2 separate regions of the Homo sapiens genome follow, and region 2 is linked to region 1. The links are contacts of gene promoters, found by promoter capture Hi-C in human tissues and cell types (Jung and others, 2019). All regions are on one chromosome and are shown on one strand. The core of a region is centred on a gene start or on the middle of the fragment in contact, and the rest is flanking DNA. Distances in the headings are between cores, read along the strand shown. Region 1 holds the start of NAT16 (N-acetyltransferase 16 (putative)). Region 2 holds the start of SERPINE1 (serpin family E member 1).

Region 1 (3,682 bases), core at 598-3,097:
TCCAGCCTGGCTCCGTGGAACTCTTAACTCTCATCAGATGTCTAGGCAGAGGCGGAGGCAGCTGGTGAGTCCAGGGCACTGTCAGAAATGTAGTCCAGGTATCTCCTGGACCAAGCGCCCTCCTAAAAGAGGGACAGCATTTCTTGGCCGGGCGTGGTGGCTCATGCCTATAATCCCACCACTTTGGGAAGCCAAGGGAGGCGGATCATCTGAGGTCAGGAGTTGGAGACCAGCCTGACCAACATGGAGAAACCCTCTCTCTACTAAAAAAAAAAAAAAAAAAAAAAAATACAAAAGTAGCCGGGCGTGCTGGCGCATTCCTGTAATCCCAGCTACTCAGGAGGCTGAGGCAGGAGAATCGCTTCAACCCGGGAGGCCGAGATTGTGGTGAGCCGAGATCACGCTATTGCACTCCAGCCTGGGCAACAAGAGTGAAACGCTGTCAAAAAAAAAAAAAAAAAAAAAGAGGAATAACATTTCTCTCTTCATGTCTATCCCCACATCCTTGGGGACATTCTTTAAATCTCATAAATATGAATGATCTCTTTGGGGAGGGGGTGATCAGAGTCATAGCTGGGCATGATCGGAGTCAGAGCTGGGAATGCCGGCAGCCCACCCACCCGCACCCCACTCCCACCACACCCCACACACCTGAAATATCGATGCCCTTGAGGCCGATGGCTTCTTGACACTGGGGGAGGGAGGAGAGGGAGGGAAGGGAGAGCCCAGTCGCCGGAGAGGCGGAGACAAAGAAGGCAGCTGCACAAAGCGCCCAAAGATGAGAGCGAAAAGGACGGGAATGGAGGCAGAGAGCAGACAAAAGCGGACAGGAGATGCGGCCGCAGGGGACAGGCAGGGAAGCCGGAGGAGGCTTCGACACCGAATCACAGACATGACACCTCGTGACTCTGGGCCCAGCAGATGAAAAAAAAAAAATCCTAGCACGCACCCCCTCCCCTGGGACACTGTAAATAGAAAGCAGCGTGACACACCCCCTTCGCCCCGGGGTATGGGGGGCGGGGATCCGTGGAGGGGAAGGGGTCAAGGGGAAAAGAAAGTCAGAAAAAAGGCCGTAAGAGAACAACCTTGGAAACAGAGACGGGGAGAGGCGATGAAGTGGGGGCGGGAGAGAAGGCCTAGGGGGTGGGCAGAGGCAGGGGCCGAGGAAGATGGCCCAGCCAAAGGGGGTGGGGGGAGGGCCCCAGAGGGCCACAGTAGTGGAGAAGGGGGGGCTGTCCTGCAGGGTCTTCCCGAGTGAGGGTCTTCCCTCTGCCTCTACCCCGGATTGGGGGCTTGGGCTTGGGGGAGAGGGAGATTGCAAAGGGAGCGATCTGCTTGGCGGGGGTTCCCCTGGGCGCCGGACCCTGGGGACAGGTGGGAGCGACATGGCAACAGAGGGGGGCGGGGGAGCGCTTCTGGACACCTGAAGCGCAGCCTCTGACTCAGTTTTCTGGGTCTTCGGACTGGGAGGGGCTGGGCAGAAGGGGGCGCAGCCGCTTGGTCCCCCTGAGGGGCGGTGGCCTTCTGCTGCCCCATTCTGCGGTGGAGGAGCACGCTAGCCCCCTCCCCAGTCCCCAGGCCCGGCCGCCCCCCTACCTCGCCGGAGCCGGAGCTGGAGCCAGGGCCGAGATGCCGCAAAGCCAAGCGGGGCGGGCGGCGGGCGCAGACACCCCCGGTGCCAAGAGAGAGGTCCCTTTGGAGCCCCCAAGAGTCAAAGGAGGATGACGCGCGGGGACTCGGCCGCGCTGTCGGAGCCCGACTCTAACGTCGGTCAGCGCTGGGGCAGCGCCGCAGCTCCGTTGGCGACGCGGGCCGGGGCGCCCATCGGTTCAGGGGTTCGGGTGGCACGCGTGGCTCCCCCGGCGACGCTCCGGCGGCAGCTTCGAGGGGCGGAGACCCCGGCGACGCGGAAGAAACCCGGGACGGATCCGGAGCGGACTCGTGCCCTGCTGGCGGGGCCGGGGGTCGGGGTGCGCCCTGGGCAGCTGGGTGGCCTCAAGCCCTACTGGCGAGACTCCGCCCTGTGTCCCGGCTGGGGAGTGGGACTGAGGATGGTGGTGTCTCGGGTTTTGGTGGTGGTGATGCTGGTGTTGCTGGCTTAGTTATCTCCCCACCCCACGCCCAGCACCTCCGTTCTCTGTCCGGGGGTCCCCCACTGCCCTGAAGTACCCCTCCTCCAGGAGCCACCCCTCAATGGAATCTCCTCTCTCCATTATAAGAGCGGCTGGGAAGGGGACTCCGAGCCTTCGTCCCCGGAAACTGATAGAGGGAATCAGAAACCCTAGAACACCGGGAAGGCGAAGAGACATCAAGAGACAGAAGTTGAAAGGCTGAAAAGGGCAGAGGGAGGCCAAGATCTCTCCATCTTCTCACCACTGCGTGGGTGCCTGAGCACCCTGGTTCCCCGGGTGCACAAGGCCCCTAAATCCACAATGTACCCCACGGGACAGCAGGCAGAAAGACCTCCAGGTACACAGCGCACACCCAGGCACATTCACACAGACCTCTGCACTCAGGAGGCGCTGCACCCCACGCTGATCCTGGTGGCTGGGGAGGAAGAGGGAAGTGTGGAGCTGGGACCCGGGTGGGTGCAGCGCTGCCCCTGCTCTAATAAGGCGGTGGCCCAGGCTCTTAACTCCTACAAGGTTCTCCATCCCACCTATAAAGTGAGCTCAAGACTGGGTGCGGTGGCTCAAGCCTGTGATCCCAGCACTTTGGGAGGCCGAGGCGGGGGAATCACTTGAGGTCAGGAGTTCGAGACCAGCCTGGCCAACATGGTGAAACCCCGTCTCTACTAAAAATACAACAATTAGCCTGGCCTGGCCGGGCACGGTGGCTCATGCCTGTAATCCCAGCACTCTGGGAGGCCGAGGTGGGAGGATCACCTGAGGTCAGGAGTTCAAGACCAGCATGGCCAACATGGCGAAACCCCGTTTCTACTAAAAATACAAAAATCAGCCGGGCACAGTGGCCTGCACCTGTAATCTCAGCTACTTGGGAGGCTGAGGCAGGAGAATCGCTTGAACCCGGGAGGCAGAGATTGCAATGCGCCGAGATCGTGCCACTGCACTCCAGCCTGCGCGGCAGAGCGAGAATCCAACTCAAAATAAAATAAAATAATAAATAAAGTGAGATCAGAACACCTTCAGTTCTACCCTGTAAGGAGCCAGGAAAGTGATGGACAAAGCCCTTTAGCAACTGTAAACTGCTTTGGAGATGCAGGGAATAATTTTTTTTTTTTTTTTTTGAGAGGAGTCTCACTCTCGCCTAGGCTGGAGTGCAGTGGCGCGATCTCGGCTCACTGCAAGCTCTGCCTCCCGGGTTCATGCCATTCTCCTGCCTCAGCCTCCCCAGTAACTGGGACTACAGACGCCCGCCACCACCCCCGGCTAATTTTTTGTATTTTTAGTAGAGACGGGGTTTCACCGTGTTAGCCAGGATGGTCTCGATCTCCTGACCTCGTGATCCGCCCGCCTCGGCCTCCCAAAGTGCTGGGATTACAGGCGTGGGCCACCGTGCCCGGCCGATGCAGGGAATAATGTTAAGGCCTTTCAAGGTCTGCTGGAGTCCTCTCTCCAGGGGCCGCCCAGCTCTCATGCTCCCCCTACCCTCTCCCCCACCCCAAAATTCATTGTTCACCCATCTTATTCCATTTTTTCTTTCTTTACTTTCCGAGGTGATA
Region 2 (3,682 bases), core at 406-2,905, 53 kb before region 1:
AAGACTCCGTCTCAAAACAGAAAAACAAAAAAAACAAAAAACAACAACAACAACAAAATCCACTAGTCTAGCCCTACATGCTCACCCACTGCTAGCCAGTTTCCACCCTCTACAGCAGAGGTACCCAACCTCTGGGCCAGGGGCCCGTACTGGTCCATAGCCTGTTAGGAACCAGGCTGCATAACAGGAGGTGAGTGGCAGGTGAGTGAAATTTCATCTGTAGTTACAGCCACTCCTCATCACTCGCATTACCACCAGAGCTCCACTCCCTGTCAGATCAGCGGCGGCATTAGATTCTCATAGGAGCTCGAACCCTATTCTAAACTGTTCATGTGAGGGATCTAGGTTGCAAGCTCCCTATGAGAATCTAATGCCTGATGATCTGTCACGGTCTCCCATCACCCCTAGATGGGACCATCTAGTTGCAGGAAAACAAGCTCAGGGCTCCCACTGATTCTACACGATGGTGAATTGTGGAATTATTTCATTATATATATTACAATGTAATAATAATAGAAATAAAGCACACAATAAATGTAATGTGCTTGAATCATCCCGAAACCATCCCACCCTGGTCTGTGAAAAAATTGTCTTCCATGAAACCAGTCCCTGGTGCCAAAAACGTTGAGGACCACTGCTCCACAGAATCTATCGGTCACTCTTCCTCCCCTCACCCCCTTGCCCTAAAAGCACACCCTGCAAACCTGCCATGAATTGACACTCTGTTTCTATCCCTTTTCCCCTTGTGTCTGTGTCTGGAGGAAGAGGATAAAGGACAAGCTGCCCCAAGTCCTAGCGGGCAGCTCGAAGAAGTGAAACTTACACGTTGGTCTCCTGTTTCCTTACCAAGCTTTTACCATGGTAACCCCTGGTCCCGTTCAGCCACCACCACCCCACCCAGCACACCTCCAACCTCAGCCAGACAAGGTTGTTGACACAAGAGAGCCCTCAGGGGCACAGAGAGAGTCTGGACACGTGGGGAGTCAGCCGTGTATCATCGGAGGCGGCCGGGCACATGGCAGGGATGAGGGAAAGACCAAGAGTCCTCTGTTGGGCCCAAGTCCTAGACAGACAAAACCTAGACAATCACGTGGCTGGCTGCATGCCCTGTGGCTGTTGGGCTGGGCCCAGGAGGAGGGAGGGGCGCTCTTTCCTGGAGGTGGTCCAGAGCACCGGGTGGACAGCCCTGGGGGAAAACTTCCACGTTTTGATGGAGGTTATCTTTGATAACTCCACAGTGACCTGGTTCGCCAAAGGAAAAGCAGGCAACGTGAGCTGTTTTTTTTTTCTCCAAGCTGAACACTAGGGGTCCTAGGCTTTTTGGGTCACCCGGCATGGCAGACAGTCAACCTGGCAGGACATCCGGGAGAGACAGACACAGGCAGAGGGCAGAAAGGTCAAGGGAGGTTCTCAGGCCAAGGCTATTGGGGTTTGCTCAATTGTTCCTGAATGCTCTTACACACGTACACACACAGAGCAGCACACACACACACACACACATGCCTCAGCAAGTCCCAGAGAGGGAGGTGTCGAGGGGGACCCGCTGGCTGTTCAGACGGACTCCCAGAGCCAGTGAGTGGGTGGGGCTGGAACATGAGTTCATCTATTTCCTGCCCACATCTGGTATAAAAGGAGGCAGTGGCCCACAGAGGAGCACAGCTGTGTTTGGCTGCAGGGCCAAGAGCGCTGTCAAGAAGACCCACACGCCCCCCTCCAGCAGCTGAATTCCTGCAGCTCAGCAGCCGCCGCCAGAGCAGGACGAACCGCCAATCGCAAGGCACCTCTGAGAACTTCAGGTAGGAGAAAAGCAAACTCCCTCCAACCTCTTACTTCGGGCTTAAGGCAGAGAACTCGCCTCCCCAGAATCTCCTCCCTCCATGATCCCCCGCTATTCCTCTATTTTCTTTTCCTCGGACCTGCAGCCTTGGGTCGACCCTGCCCTAGGGGTGACTGCAGGAGAGCAGGGAGGATGGTCAGGCGTCACCAACAACCCCATCACCCAGTAACAAGAACCTTGACTCTCTCAGTCCCTCTGCATCAAGACACTTACCCATTTCCCACCTCATGCCTGCTAACTTGAATGAAACAATCGCTGGGAAAGCATTAAGAGAATTAAGGCTGGGCACTGTGGCTCATGCCTGTAATCCCAGCACTTTGTGAGGCTGAGGCAGGCAGATAACTTGAGCCCAGGAGTTTGAGACCAGCCTGGGCAACATGGCAAAACCCTGCTCTCCCAAAAAAATACAAAAATTAGCTGGGCGTGCTGGTGTGCCTGTATTCCCAGCTACTTGGGAGGCTGAGGTGGGAGGATTGCTTCAGCTGGGGAGGCGGAGGCTGCAGGGAGCCAAGACTGAGCCATTGCACCCAGCCTGGGTGACAGAGCAAGACCCTGTCTCTAAAAATGAATGAAAGGAAGGAAGAAAGAGAGAGAAAGAGAGAGAGGAAAGAAGGAAGGAAGTAAAGAAGAAAGAAAGAAAGAAAGAGGAAAGAGGAAGAAAGAAAGAAAAGAAAGAAAAGAAAAGAAAGCAAATTTAAAGCTTATGCAAATCAAAGATGTTGTGATAATTGATAATTGAGTCTGGGCTAAATTCCCCCTGGGCTGCAAAGGCAGAGAGTGGTAATGACTTCTCACCTGCTTTTCTTCTAAGGCTTTTTTACGGGACACAGAGGGAAGGGAGATGGACTGGATTCCAAGATTCCCACAGGGCAAGATGGGCGAAGACTCCCTGCCACTGCCCGGGGATAAGTCAGTCTGAGTGAGACGGAGTGGGATGGGCTTAGAACCTGAACATGTCATGGTCTCTTCCTGCACCTTGCCCTAGTGTTCACTTACCACCTGCTTGCAGGAAACAAGAAGAGCAGGGCCCACAGCTGGCCAGCTCCCCTCCCCTCCCGCCTGTCTTCCAGAACGATTCCTTCACCAGCCCTCTTTCCATTGCTCTAGGATGCAGATGTCTCCAGCCCTCACCTGCCTAGTCCTGGGCCTGGCCCTTGTCTTTGGTGAAGGGTCTGCTGTGCACCATCCCCCATCCTACGTGGCCCACCTGGCCTCAGACTTCGGGGTGAGGGTGTTTCAGCAGGTGGCGCAGGCCTCCAAGGACCGCAACGTGGTTTTCTCACCCTATGGGGTGGCCTCGGTGTTGGCCATGCTCCAGCTGACAACAGGAGGAGAAACCCAGCAGCAGATTCAAGCAGCTATGGGATTCAAGATTGATGGTGAGCCACGGGACACCAGGGGAGGTGGGTGGCATGCAGAACAGACCTACCAGAAGCCAAGGAAAGGCTGGCTCTGGCTTAGCCGAGCCAAGCCCCATACAGCTGTGCTGCAGGGGCCACCCCATCTTCTTCCCACTACACTCCAAGTCACTGGACCCTTGAATCTCCAAGGGTGTCTGACCAGTAGATTTACCGCTTATTCACCACCGTGTGATCTTAACCTCGTTAAGTTTGCCCATCTACAAAATGAGGATTATTTGCTGTCCTAAAGAATTCATGAGCCGGGCGCGGTGGCTCAAACGCCTGTAATCCCAGCACTTTGGGAGGCCAAGGCGGGCGGATCATGAGGTCAGGAGATCAAGACCATCCTGGCTAACACAGTGAAACTCCATCTCTACTAAAAATACAAAAAAAATTAGCCAGGCGTGGTGGCAGGCGCCTGTAGTCCCAGCTACTCGGGAGGCTG

The links. The method cuts DNA at HindIII sites, captures the fragments that hold promoters and counts their contacts. A contact is called where the count stands out against the background at its distance.
Region 2: the fragment with the promoter of SERPINE1 here is called in contact with the fragment with the promoter of NAT16 in region 1 in 1 of the 25 tissues and cell types used here (liver).

Annotation. Positions count from the first base shown.
Region 1 is chr7:101,178,446-101,182,127 of GRCh38, forward strand. NAT16 (N-acetyltransferase 16 (putative)) reads right to left here and starts at 1,848. Exons shown (of 4, transcript NM_198571.3): 1 at 1,597-1,848. RefSeq lists an enhancer at 1,629-2,351 and a silencer at 1,723-2,017. The HindIII fragment of the contact is 15,471 bases long and covers 1-3,682 here.
Region 2 is chr7:101,125,449-101,129,130 of GRCh38, forward strand. It overlaps SERPINE1 (serpin family E member 1), which reads left to right and starts at 1,656. Exons shown (of 9, transcript NM_000602.5): 1 at 1,656-1,796; 2 at 2,945-3,216. The coding sequence starts at 2,946. RefSeq lists enhancers at 532-1,311, 2,092-2,871, 2,872-3,651. The HindIII fragment of the contact is 16,005 bases long and covers 1-3,682 here.